Regions from separate parts of the Homo sapiens genome. Here regions 2, 3 and 4 are each linked to region 1. Evidence: promoter capture Hi-C in 16 types of primary human blood cells and fetal thymus (Javierre and others, 2016). All regions are on one chromosome and are shown on one strand. The core of a region is centred on a gene start or on the middle of the fragment in contact, and the rest is flanking DNA. Distances in the headings are between cores, read along the strand shown.

The links. Contacts are between HindIII fragments. The CHiCAGO score rates a contact against its expected background, and 5 or more counts as called.
Region 2: a fragment that was not itself captured here is called in contact with the fragment with the promoter of MORC4 in region 1 in 1 of 17 cell types (total B cells); the score reaches 6.7 in total B cells.
Region 3: a fragment that was not itself captured here is called in contact with the fragment with the promoter of MORC4 in region 1 in 1 of 17 cell types (M2 macrophages); the score reaches 5.3 in M2 macrophages.
Region 4: a contact is called between a fragment that was not itself captured here and the fragment with the promoter of MORC4 in region 1, in 1 of 17 cell types (M2 macrophages). The highest score is 5.6, in M2 macrophages.

What each region holds. Positions count from the first base shown.
Region 1 is chrX:106,998,375-107,001,659 of GRCh38, reverse strand. MORC4 (MORC family CW-type zinc finger 4) reads left to right here and starts at 1,448. Exons shown (of 17, transcript NM_024657.5): 1 at 1,448-1,792; 2 at 1,911-1,983. The coding sequence starts at 1,691. RefSeq lists silencers at 1,384-1,463, 1,474-1,683. The HindIII fragment of the contact is 4,977 bases long and covers 1-3,285 here.
Region 2 is chrX:107,456,418-107,459,702 of GRCh38, reverse strand. The region is part of intron 1 of FRMPD3 (FERM and PDZ domain containing 3); the gene reads right to left. Among named protein-coding and RNA genes, the nearest start is that of FRMPD3, 8.4 kb to the right of the region's middle. The HindIII fragment of the contact is 9,275 bases long and covers 1-3,285 here.
Region 3 is chrX:107,400,481-107,403,765 of GRCh38, reverse strand. No RefSeq gene overlaps it. Among named protein-coding and RNA genes, the nearest start is that of FRMPD3, 48 kb to the left of the region's middle. The HindIII fragment of the contact is 3,214 bases long and covers 1-3,178 here.
Region 4 is chrX:107,318,795-107,322,079 of GRCh38, reverse strand. No RefSeq gene overlaps it. Among named protein-coding and RNA genes, the nearest start is that of DNAAF6, 110 kb to the right of the region's middle. The HindIII fragment of the contact is 4,381 bases long and covers 1-3,285 here.

The DNA of each region.
Region 1 (3,285 bases), core at 199-2,698:
AATTACTGCATCTGAGTAATAAGTACATGGGATTCATTATATTGTTTTCTGTACTTTTGTGTATTTTAAAAAATTGAAGAAAAGATAACTAAAAAACAGACAAATGTAAAGCACCCAATGGGGGTAAAAAATGATGCTCAAAGGACATAAACAGGCATTTGTAGAAGAGGAGATGCAAATGTATACTAAACATTTGAAAAGATATTCAGCCTTACTGGTAGTCAGGAAAATGCAAATTAAAACAATAAGGAGATACTATTTTTTATTGAAAAGACTATCAAAAAGTTAAAAGATTGGGACCATCTAGTGCTATGAACATGACAAAAGAGCACTGATTGTTGCTGGGAGGGCAAATTGCCTATCTTACAGTATTTATTAAGATTAAACCATGCACATGCTATTAGATGCAGCAGTCTCATCTTTTGGAATTCATTCTGTGGAGATAACAGTATCAGAAATTAATGACCTGTACACGAGTGTGTGAAGGAGCATTTTTTGTATTGTCAAAATTAAAAAAAGAGGACAACCTAAATTACCATAAAGGAATGGTCAAATAAATTATAGTTCATTCATGCCATAGAACATTACATATGTTTTTAATGAATCTGTTTTTCTATTATCAGTGTATATTTATAGTATATTAGAAAACACAGGTAAGAAAAAAGGAAAAAGTGTCTAGTTCCAGACCCAGAGATATCATCTTGGTGTATATCAAGTGGTTTTCGTTGTGTGTGTGTGTGTGTATATATATATGTATGTATGTATGTGTATATGTGTGTATGCATGCATATATATATATGTATATATGTATACATATATATTTGTTTTTCCAATAGAAAAGGCATCATGCGTTCCACAATATGTTGTAACTCCTTGTTTTCTTCATTCCTTCATGAATATTTTTCTACATCAACACATACTTATCTACAAACATGGCCTTCAAGAACTGGATGGTATTTCATTTTATGCATACTTCATAACTCGACCAATCCCCTACTTGGCGGTATTTAAGTGAATCCAATTTCTCCTTTTAGAAACACCGTCCCTGCATGCTAGCAAGACTTTGGAGATAGTTTGCTAATTGCCTTCCAGAAAGTTCTGGGTGCTTCTGGAGGCATTTGAGGCAGAGTAGGTAGAATGTTTTCCCATCAGGCGAGCTTGCTATCTTCCCAGATAGCAACACTGTAGTCTTTAGAACTTGAAAGACTTGTCTTATCTTGCCTGTTAGTCATGCAGCCTAAGCGGGACTAGGTTCCAGAAATCCCATACATGCTCTCCCTCCTCTTGCTTCATTCACGCCCCTCCCCACGCGCCACCCCCGCCCCCCGCGCTTTCCCGCTCGGCGGCCTGGCCTATGGCATACGCCAATAATTAATTAGGGGCGGGGATCAAGGAGCGGCTGTCAGGAGGTCGCCATATTTCTGTACGGCCCAGAGGCAGCCCGGGCAGTCGCCGGGTCGGTAGAGGTGCTGACAGGGCGGAGCCGCCGCTTGCCTCAGCCGGCCTCACCCCTCCCGCCCGGGACAGGTGGCTGGAGCGCGCTCCGCCTCCGCCAGCTGCGAGTGGGAGCGAGGGAGGGCCGGTCCCGGACGGTCGCCGCCAGCTGCGAGTGGAAGTGAGCGAGGGCTAGTCCCGGACCGCCGGGCCAGGGGTCCGGCGGCAGCAGACGGGTACCGTGGCGGCCAAAAAAATGCTCCTGTACCGAGGGGCCCCCGCCGGCCCTGGCGCGCCGGGCTGCGGGCTGGCCCGGCCCGGCGGCGGCCCGCAGGCCTTCGGGATCCGCCTGAGCACGGTAGGTCCGGGGCCCGAGGGGGCGGACGCGCGCGCGGGCCCCTGGGCTGCGGGGGGCGCGCGGGGAGGGCCCGGCGGGCCGAGGCCTCACGCGGGTCGGGACCTTCTCTCGCCCCCAGATGAGCCCCCGCTACCTCCAGAGCAACTCCAGCAGCCACACGCGACCCTTCAGTGCCATCGCGGAGCTGCTAGGTGAGTGGCGAGGGCGGGCCCGGCCGTGTTCGCCCGAGGCAGTGGTGCCAGCGTGGTGCCGCGGACGCGAGAGGAATGCGCAGAGCCGCGCGGGGCGGGCCGGGGCTGGGGTGGGGGCCTCGGAACCGGCCCCGGCTCCGCAGGCGGAGGAGGGGGATGGCTCTCTCGCCAGGAACTAGGTTCCGCTCATAAAACGGAGGAAACGAGGTGTGTCTGAAGCGTTAAAGACACCAGTGTGGTTTTTCTCTCGCGCTCGTGACGTTCGGGCACTTTAGGATAGCTTAGTTAGTAATCAAAAGGAGATGCATAAAAACCTCGGGCCCTGAGGCAGCTGGGTCCGCAGGGGCTGGCGACCGACGGAGGATGCCTAGCTAGCAAAGGGGCGTAGAGGACCGAGGCGGGTCCTGGGGAAAGGTCTGGAAAGCGGAGTTCCTTAACTTTTGAGACAAGAAAAGTTAGGAATGATGGGACATCTCTTAAGAGATGACACGAGTGCATTTGGCTCCCTGCTACTGCGGAGGGCTGGGTCCGTGGTCCACGAGCGCCCTCACACCGCTGGAATGAATATTGAGGACTTAACCTCTCGCTCCACCGGTGTTTGCTTTTAAAGTGTTTTCAGTTGATCCCTTCAAGCCAATTACACCAGTTTTTGCAGTAGTGTGCTACTGTGTGGAAAGCAAAGAAGAAACGCAGTCCTGCACAAAACGCAGCAGCATACAGGGCGCATTATACATGCTTTGAAAATCGAAAGAAGGAAGAAGTGTTTATGGGCAAGGTTGCACAGAACAAACTCTTGAAAATGTTTTCAAAGCTCCCCAAATGAACCCCGGTCTCTACTTAAGCAGTCGCTGTGGCCATGCCATGAGAGTTATCTTGGGTAAGAAGTCAATGGGTAGCAGGGGACTTACTTGGAAGGGTGATAAGAATGATAGAGACCTTTGATGATTAACCATAACACGGAATGCTTTACAATATGTGTAATTTAATTAGAAGGTGAAAGGCAAAAAGTGGAATTGATACGTTTGGAACCCTAGAGCAGAGGGACTGTATCTTTGAGGTTTGGTACTGTGCCTTGGGGCTGTGCACTGAACCTCTGCAGAATGGAATACAATCCAAGTTAAGTATGTAATTTACAAGAAAGACTACAAGGGAGCAAAAAGTAGTGATTTACATAGTGGGGGATGGGAAAGCGAAATGTATTGTTCTCTCATGGTTGGCACGGTGCAGAACGTGATATACCTGTGCTGTGCTTACTGTACTTTCCAGGTGATTTAATGAGTTTCCAATTTGTAATTTTGGATA
Region 2 (3,285 bases), core at 504-3,003, 460 kb before region 1:
TGTACTCATTCATCTTTACAAGGCATCATATGCTCCCACAAGAAGAACAAGTAAAAGGAGACTAAAATCTCACAAATATCCCTTTATCTGCAGTTCTCTATTTCCCTCCAATCCAGGGCTGGCAGACCTGGCCCAGACACCTATCCAGGGCTGATATTCAGTGGATTGGGTGGGGAGGGGAAAGTTGGTGGGGGAGGCAATTTAGCAGGCAGAGGCCCTGGCCATGACTCTCCCATCAACCTGTGGACTCCTCACTTAGTTTCCTTATACCAGCTGCAACAGGGCTCCAGCTGGCATCAAAGTGCTGTGGTAGCTCTTGCCATACTCTGGCACAGGTGTGACCTTCACTGAGATGATTCCCAAGTGCTCAGAAGAGTTTTCAAACTGATTCTACCAGGGAAGTTGAAAGATGTTTCCTCACTCTTACCAGCTCTCAGAAGCCTTGGGGGACTTGAAACAGACCAGACACAGGCATCGCCTGCCTCCGGCCTCCCTGTTGGGGGATGTAATACTCAGCACCCCAGCTTGGCTATCATCTCAACTGCATTCTGCAGCCAGATTCCTCATTGCTCACTCTTTCAGGTCATGGTACTGAAGGCCCCTGTGCGCATCTACTTTACTTGGAAAGGATAACTGATTATAATGCCCAATGTTATCTTAGCTCCAGAAACTCTGCCACCTTAAGGTCCTGAGGGCATGAGGCAAAGAAAGTGTAAGTATTGAGGCTAAGAGGAAGGAGCGAGTGAGACAAAAACAAGTCAAGAAAATCTACTTGGTGGTTTATCAGCCACACCGATGCCTTGAGAGCCTTTTGGATTTGACCCTCCTCTCTATGCCCACTGCCACCACCCTTATCACCTCTCACTTAGATTGCTGTAGTATCTTATAGGCTGGTCTCAAGTCTCTCCCTATTCCAATCAATTCTGCTTCCAACTGCATAGCTAACCATCCTGAATCACTATGCATAATTGTCCGACAGCCCCCAAGGTTTACCCAAGTCCAAACTTCTTCTGACATCAGAGACTCTTCAAATCTGGGAGTCCCATACCCAGCCAATCATTTTTTCCCCACTGTGCCTGCATATACACCCTCTCCTCTAGTCAGACTTCTTTCTGACCCTTTCTTGATAACACCCTGACCATTTCCATCTCCAGCCTTTTCCCTATGCTGTGCCTCCCCCTCAGAAGCCTGTTCCTTTTCTAGTCAACAATCTCAATCTCACATGTTACTCAAAACATAACGCAGGTTCAACTTCTTCTGGGAAGACTTCTCCCCTCATTCCAGCCCACACTCTCATTCTCTCTGTGCTTTGAACCCCTACAGTGCTTACTGTTTAGAGCAAAAAAATGTGGCACATAATTGTTTTCCATCTTGTATTATTCTTAGTTACTTCATATGAATGAGTATTATTTTTCTGTTAAATTACGGATTTCCAGAGAGCAGGGCCTTTGCTTTCCCCTTCTCACCATAACATTAGTACAGGGCTAGATCCTGGAGTGGTCAATAGACTTCTCTTCCCATGCCTTAACTCCAGTATGAAGGAAGGATGAGATAAGTGAAGCCCGCTAAGGATCTCCGCTGTTCATTCCCTCACCTTTCTCAAAAGATGTTCCAGACGGCAGAGGAGCTGAGGCTGCCGAGTGAGACATAGGCAGCCAATCAGCTGTCAGATCCTAGCTTTCAGAACACTCCCACCTCCTAAGGTTTTCTGGGCAATCAATAACGCTACTTAAGTGATCAATCTGAGGCACAATGGGCTGTAGGGGCCAGTGTTTGATTAACTTGAGAGAATAAATGTACGCTGGAAGAGAAAGAGCAGGGAGGGGGGAGCAGAAGAAAAAGCAAGAAGAAAGATGAGCTAGGGGAAGGAAGAGAGAGAAAAGCCTTTATGAAGGAGGGTATGATGGGATGGAGCTGAGAGTAGTTCTCACCTAATCCAATTCAACGAGTTAAGCAAGTTCCTACTGAGGTGTCGAAATAATCTTGGGGCTTTGTCAGAGTCCAGTGAATATCCCAGGGCTTTTAGGCAATTTTTGACTTTGGCAAGAACACTGTTGCCATGGTCCACTGAGGGTCCACACAGCCTCCATATTGGGTGGAAGAGTGGGTGTGGGATAGAGACTTCAGCCAATATCAAGGAAAGACATGGATCTTGAGCTATGCTCATTGGCTGTGTCTAGAGAAATCCCAGGTTCTGGCATCCTACACTCTCCTACCCAAGCCTGATGACTCAGAAACCCATGATGATATGGGACAGTAGGCTCATCTGCAAGGGAGATATCAGCATTACCTTCTCTCTATCCAGAATTGTATATACTATCCTCCCTCTCAAGGCCCTGGAGCTGGAAATTTAACTATTTGCAGTTAACAAAAAATACGGAGTCCCTTTCCAAATGTTTTCCAAACATTATCAAATGTTTAGCTATACCACGAATCAAATTTTTTTCTGGGAAAGATAGTATTATCTGGAAAAAAAAAACAGAGCAGATGGCCTCTTACTGTGAGAAAGTGAGAAAGTTCCTCCTTTAATCTAACCATGATACCTGCTGCTCTCATTAAAAACTCATCCTTCTCATAGGATGACATTGGTACCCTCCTGGTTATGCAGGCTCAAAGCCTTAGAATCATCTTTGACTCTTCCTTCTTCCTCACCCCACGCATTCAATTGGTAGGTAAATCAGGTTTCCTCTACCTCCAAATACATTCACCCATCTTCTTTCTGTCCCCAACCAGCTATGGTAACAACCGGCTAACTGGTCTTCCTGCCTCCAGAATGATCTTGTTTTAATCATTATGCCAAAGCGAGAAAAAAAGAAAAATGAGCTTGAATCTAATCAAGCCCAGAGCTAACTTCCATTTATAGAAAATATAGGGGATAGGTGAACAAGCTAACTGGCAATAAGAGGACAAACCAGAATGTGGGAATTGTGCAGAGCAAACAACCTGATTTCTGTGACAAGTCAAAGAGAGAGGGCTGTTGAAAGGGCCTTTAGAGACATAACAACCAAATGTCACGTGTGGAACTTTTTTGGAACGTCCGTCAAACAAGCCAACTGTAAAACATGTTTTGAGACAATTGAGGGCATATGATTATGGACAGGGTAATGGATAATACAAAGGCATTATTGTTACTTTTGTTAGGTGTATTAGCAGTTCTGTAGTTATGTTAGAAAATGTCCAGTTTTTAAGAAATGCATAGAGAAATATTAGGAATAAAATGATGTGATCGATGTTTGGCATGATAGGTGAAGCAAACATGGCAAAGTCCTGATAACTAGTTAATGT
Region 3 (3,285 bases), core at 322-2,821, 400 kb before region 1:
GGAGCCAGAATGGCATCAGAATTTCTAGTAGGCACACTGGAAGTTAGAAAACAATGAAAAAATGTTTTCAAAATTCTAAAAGAAAATTATTTTTAAATAAGAATTTTATACCTAGCAAAGCTATTAACCAAGATTTAGCTTAGAATAAATACATTTTCAAACAAGTAAGATCTAAGAAAACTTACCTCCCATATATCCTTTCTTAGGAAGTGACTAGAGGAAAGGCTCCAAGAGGCAGGACTGTTTGGGACCCAGGAAATAGGAAATCCATTATATAGCAGGGGAATGAAAGGAAGCACTAAGATGGTAGCTGTGCAGCAAGCCTAGAGGGCAATCAGTCCAGAGTGGATCAAAAGAATTGAGGCCTGTAGGACAGATTCTCCATTAAAAATATGAAACTGACAGAATTCTAGATTCCTTTGATCATGTGAAAAAGTATTTGGGGAAGGGGAATTTAAGGAATATTGGTGATAAATAAAAAATCAACACTTTTTTAAAAGGGACAAACTAACTTTAGGGAGAAAAGAGACGTAGAAGAGAAGAAATATAATCGTAGTATAACTTGACTCAGCAGTGATAGATATTGACATAGTCATAATAATGTAAACAACAAACATCAGTTTAAATAATAATTGCAACATGACTCTATTGGAAGGATGAAGGGTAGGGAAGTCCATGTTTATGTGTGTTGGTAAGGAAGGGTGTGTTTTACAGAACAAAAATTCTATACCCTCCTTAAATTATTGATGATTTGATCATATTTTCTCTGTTCTATATTAAAGTATTTCTTCTCTCTTGGGTCCTTCAGCTTTTAAACCTGTTTAAAACTCTCTCATTAATACAATAGAGCAAAAATAAAAATAAAAGAAAACCATCCAGCCAAATAATAAAAAACTTTCAAATTGACATTACCCTTCGGCTAACTACTCTCTCTCCTACTCCTTACCACAGCCAAATGTCTTGACAGAACGGTATATAGTCTCTCCCTTCATTTCCTCTGCAAAAAAAGCTACTTCCTCTGCAAAATAAGTTAGTTTATCAAGATTCCAGGCCACAAGATCTATATATAAAAATTAATTGTACTCCTATCATTGTCTGTTTTCTGAAAATTGACCTATAAATTCAAGGCAATCTCAATTAAAATCCTAGCATATTTTTGTAGAAATTGACAAGATTCTAAAATTTGTATGAAAATTCAAAGAACCTAAAATATCAAAAATGATTTTGAGAAAGAGTGAAATCGTGGTATTTATACTACCTGATTTCTAACGTTTTTATTTTAAAATTTTTAATATTCATGGGTATATAGTAGGTGTATATATTTATGAGGTACATGAGATGTTTTGATGCAGGCATGCAATGTGAAATAAGCACATTATGGAGAATGGGGGATCCATGCCATCAAGCATTTATCCTTTGAGTCACAAACTATTCAATTACATGTTTTCAGTTATTTTTAAATGTACAATTAAGTTATTATTGACTATAGTCACCCTGTTGTGCTATCAAATAGTAGGTCTTATTCAGTCTTTCTAATTTTTTTTGTACTCATTAACCATCCCCACTTCCTCCGCAGCTCCCCACTACCTTAAGCCTTACTATTAGACTCTACTAATCTAGGCAATGTGGTATTGATGTAAGAATACACATGCAGATCTGTGGAACAAAATAGCATATGTACAAATAAATATATATAATATATAATTTCAACATATCTAAATGTTAGGTGTATATATATATATATATATATATATATATATATATATATTCAACTTATTTTGGACAAAGATACTACAAAAATTCAACAGAGAAAGTATACTCTCTTTCTTTAAAAATTAAAAAAAATTTTTTTTGGTGATGGGGTCTCTGTTGCCTAGGCTGGAGTCCAGTGGTGTGATCATAGCTCACTGCAGCCTCAAACTCTTGGGTTCAAGCGATCCTCTTGCCTCAGCCTCACAAGTAGCTAGGATGACAAGTGCATGCCATTATACCCAGGTAATTAAAAAAAATTTTTTTTGTAATGATAAGATCTTGCTTTGTTGCCCAGTCTGGTCTTTAACTCCTGGGCTCAAGTGATCCTCTTGCCTTTGTATCAAGTAAATTTTGTCACAAAAACATCATAAAAACATAGAATGTGGTCACATGGCCTTTTAGCAAAAAGTGTTGGTTCAGTTCCATGTCCAAAATACTGCATAAAAAGTACTTCTGGCCAGGTGTGGTGGCTCACACCTATAATCCCAGCATTTTGGGAGGCCGAGGTGGGTGGATCACCTGAGGTCAAGAGTTTGAGACCAGCCTGGCTAAAACGGTGAAACCCTGTCTCTACCAAAAATACAAAAAATTAGCTAGGTGTGGTGGTGGGCACCTGTAATCCCAGCTACTCTGGAGGCTGAGGCAGAAGAATCACTTGAACCCAGGAGGCAGAGGTTGCAGTGAGCTGAGATCGCACCTTTGCACTCCAGCCTGGGCGACAAGAGCGAGAATCCATCTAAAAAAAAAAAAGTCCTATTAAGTAACTGTTATTCTTTTTTGTGTCTTTTTTGTTTTGTCATTCTTTTTTGTCTTTATAAACATTCTTCACTCGTCAATTCTTGAGTTTGAAAAAATTCATCTAAGATATCTTCGTCTGAAGAAGATTCACAATCTGAAATTTCACTTACATAATCAGTTTCACTATCATCAGTCTGGAATGCTGTTATCTTTCTCTTTGTATTCACATCCTGCTTCATCTAAAAATTATAAAACTCCCCTTTGTCAGTTTTTCTTCTATTTGTCATTATGGGAAGAAAATATGAAAAATATCTGTATTCTCAAATGGGTTTATTCCTAAAAGCGAGCTAGAAAACAAAAACAAAATAGCATTGAAAAACATCCAATATCTAAGAGCAAAACCAGAAAAAGTGTACAAGGCTTCTAAACAGAAAGTTCTAAAACATTTTTTGAGAGGAAGTAAATGAGACCTAAATAAATAGGTAAATTGTAAATCTCAATATTGTAAAGACATCAATTCTTACCGATTTGATCTATAGATTCAAGACAATCCCAAATTCCAACAGGAATTTTTTTATTTGTGGAAATTGACAAGCCAACTCAAAAATTTATATGGAAATGTAAAAGGCCAAGAATAACTGAGGCAAATTTGAAGGACAAAACAAGACGTAATACCAGAAACCAAGCTTTATCTAGCTACAAGTATTAAGTTAATATGGTATTGACACAAGGATAGACAAGTAGACCAATGGAGCAGAGGATCTACAAACAAATCCACACATACATTATGTCAAA
Region 4 (3,285 bases), core at 414-2,913, 320 kb before region 1:
AGTTTGTCATCTCTACACATGTGAAAGCCCTTCTTTCATCTATGTAAATCCATATTCATCATATTCATCAGTAATTTTAAATGTAGTGCAAAAACTCACCTCCTTCGCAAATTGTCCTTGATTAACCCCACCACACTTAATTTCTTCACTGTCTCTTTCCTAGCTTACATCTTTCATTTTTTTAAACTCTATTCACTTTTACTTGTGGATTCATTCTTTGGAAGTAGTTCACTTCCTCCATGAGCTTTTTTGATCACTCCAGGCAGCACTAATATCTGTTCCAAAGGCGAAATATAGGTGGCTTTTAAGTTAAAATGGTTCTGGATTCAAATATGGACTCTGTCACTTACTAGCTCTGTGACCTTGAGCAATTGACTCCTTTCTCTTGGTGTCTAGTGGCTCATTTATAAGATGAGGTTATCGTAAAGATCAAGTGAGTAGTATATTGTGGTGATTCATTTACATGCATGTGAATGTTATCTTCAAGATATTTAAATCCATGACCATCACCAATTTTTAAATTATGAGCATTGATTTGGGTGCTTGAGCTTTTTTGGTTCATTTTTTGGTTACATACTGTCTCCTAATATGCTATAATGGCTCTATGTGCATAAATAAGACTTGTCTTCCCCCAGAAAAGCTGTGTTCTCATGGAAAGCAGAGCGTGAGCCATGCAGAATGACAATATAACTTACCATTCAAACCAAGACACTTTTGAGAGTGAGAAGAGGTGCTATTAATAATAATTGCCCCAGGTCTCATCACAAACCAGGACTGTCCCTGGGAAGCCAGGACACATGGCTATCCTAATCATATATTTCTTGAGAGTCTCTCCAACCCTCAGCCCAGTGCTAGCTAGGAAGTAAGTACTTGCTAAATCAATACTTGTGGAGTGGAATTGAAGGCCTGGCAGCCTCAGAAGTTAGCAAACATGGCTAGTCTTATGTAGCTCCTCCTTTCCTCCCTCTGTCTCTTGTGTGCTCTTCTTATTCAGCAGTAATGTCACCCCCAAATGGCACATTCATCATCCCAAATTAACCATTATTAAAGCCATCCATTTGCGGGGCTGCAGCTAAAATGAATTGTGTTATTATTCCAGTTACAGCAATGAATGGCTGAACATCAAAAGCCATTTTGATTTTGTAGCTAGAAGGCAATCAATTATTGTGTTCTGTCGGCTTGTCCAAAGTAGTGCCCAGCCTGCTGCTTGTGAGTATAAGCGTCCTTCTCCATCTTGTCATACACTCACACACCTCCTTAGACCTCCCCTCACAATACTGGAGAGCCCAGGAAAGGGAAGCATATATTCTTTCTACCAGTCTGGATCAACTCTTCCTCCCAAAAGTTGGGGTCTTCTCGGCTTTGAGGCTAAAGAGGCTTCTCCTGACTTACACTGCCTTTCTCTCTCCCACTCCTGATCCCTATAGGCCTGGGCAGTGAGCCAGCCTGAGTTTCAGTCTTGGTTCGGGTCCCCCTCCACTACCCTGCTACCTACACTACAGATTGGTCTTATCTGAGGCAACTTTGTGAGGCTCAGTACCCCCAGTGACTTCATTTCTCAACCCCTCCTTTTGGAGTCACACAGTTCTCAGGACCCCACCCCAGCTGCCCAGTCTCCTCACTCTGGAAAGTTACTGATGAATGAGAGGCTTAAGGCAGCTCATCTCCCAGAAAACCCCTGAACTGTAATAGAGTCTTCACTGTTTTACCTCAAAGGAATGATTTAAGCTCCCCAGAGTAGGACAGTGCACAAGAAAGGAAGAGGGTGATGGGAAATACTGCCTAGACAGGGGACTGGAAGAGGTATTGATCAGAAGGCCCTTTCTGTGGTGGAAATAATGATAATGTTGGTGAGAATAATAGCAGCTACTGCTTTTCAGCTGTTTATACTGTGCTAGACATAAACCTAGCAGTCCAGGCCCCTCTAAACCTCACTGTGCCCAACCTCTTGCTGTTGGAAAGACTAAATGAATGAAGGTACTGCAACTCTCCAATGCATATTTCCTGTGGGCTACACTGGGTGAAGTGCTGTGAGCTCTGCTACTTCACATCACATTACACTGCAGCTCTGCTGCCTTTAGCCAAATCTCCCCATTCATAGCCTCATCTCCCTGTCACCCACTTTGCTTTAGGAATCAGGCCTGAGAGTAAGATTTAGCAGGAGTGTGTAAGGTAGAGCAAATTTCCCCGGCTCTTCTCCCCATCAACAAGTAGAAGGCAACTAGGACCATGTTGATTACCTGAAATTAAGTTCTCTCAGCTGGATAATGTCCCCAAGGGCTACCAGTATAGAATTCATTTGCCTGTGCCCAGTGACAGAAATTACTCAAGACCTGGCATCTCCCTCAAGCCCCTAAAACAGGTTGTCAGCCCAATGGCTCTCTGATCACTAATATCTCCCTATCATCCCCCCCCCCCACACACACACTACAGACACACAGTCACACATTCTGATGAAATTATCTAATGAGATCCTTCTAAGATGTTCACATTGCTTGTGGGGACAGAATCAAGACTGTGAAGTATTTGACGATGATTTTTGTTTATGGTTTTAAATTCCATTCCTGTCATTACCAGGAAGAAGAAGAGTAGAAGGAATTCTCCCCACTTACAGGTGAGAAAACAAATATGAAAGATGAGAGACTTGTCAAAATTATGTTAAAAAAACAGACACTGGACTTGAGTGACAAATGTAGCCTTAGAGTTTCTGATTTGTTTTCTCACCTTAAGTAATCTGAGTTGCGAGTACTTGGCTATTTGTTCTTTTGGGCCAGGAAGATCCAAAGATTACTATGATCCTTCAAGTATTGAGTTGACTCAGATTCAACCTTGTTTTGCTCTGTTCCAACCTCTTTTTCTCTCAATAGGGAGCAAGAGCTTTCAAAATACAAATAATTGTTTTTCACAATTTAACAGCAAGGCCAGCTTATTGCAGACATTTAGAAGCTGAAGATAAGCAAAAATATATATAATCTGCAGTTTCACCACTCAGTGATAACTGCTGTAATCATTGTGGTGCATTTCCTTTTTGTCTTTTTTCTGTGTCTATATACCCATATGTGTACGTATTTTATACCATATTTCCTGCATTCTAATACACATATTCTTCATTTCTGAGATCAGGATGCATCTTATAATGATGTCAAAATGACTTGCGAATGGCCAGGCAGAGGAATCTACTGTGATATTGTTGTCATTGCTTATAAGCATGCAGACTTAGCTGTACTGAGACGTTATCTGTACATCATGTTGTCACTTCAGTTGAGTTATTTGCATTGGTAGAAC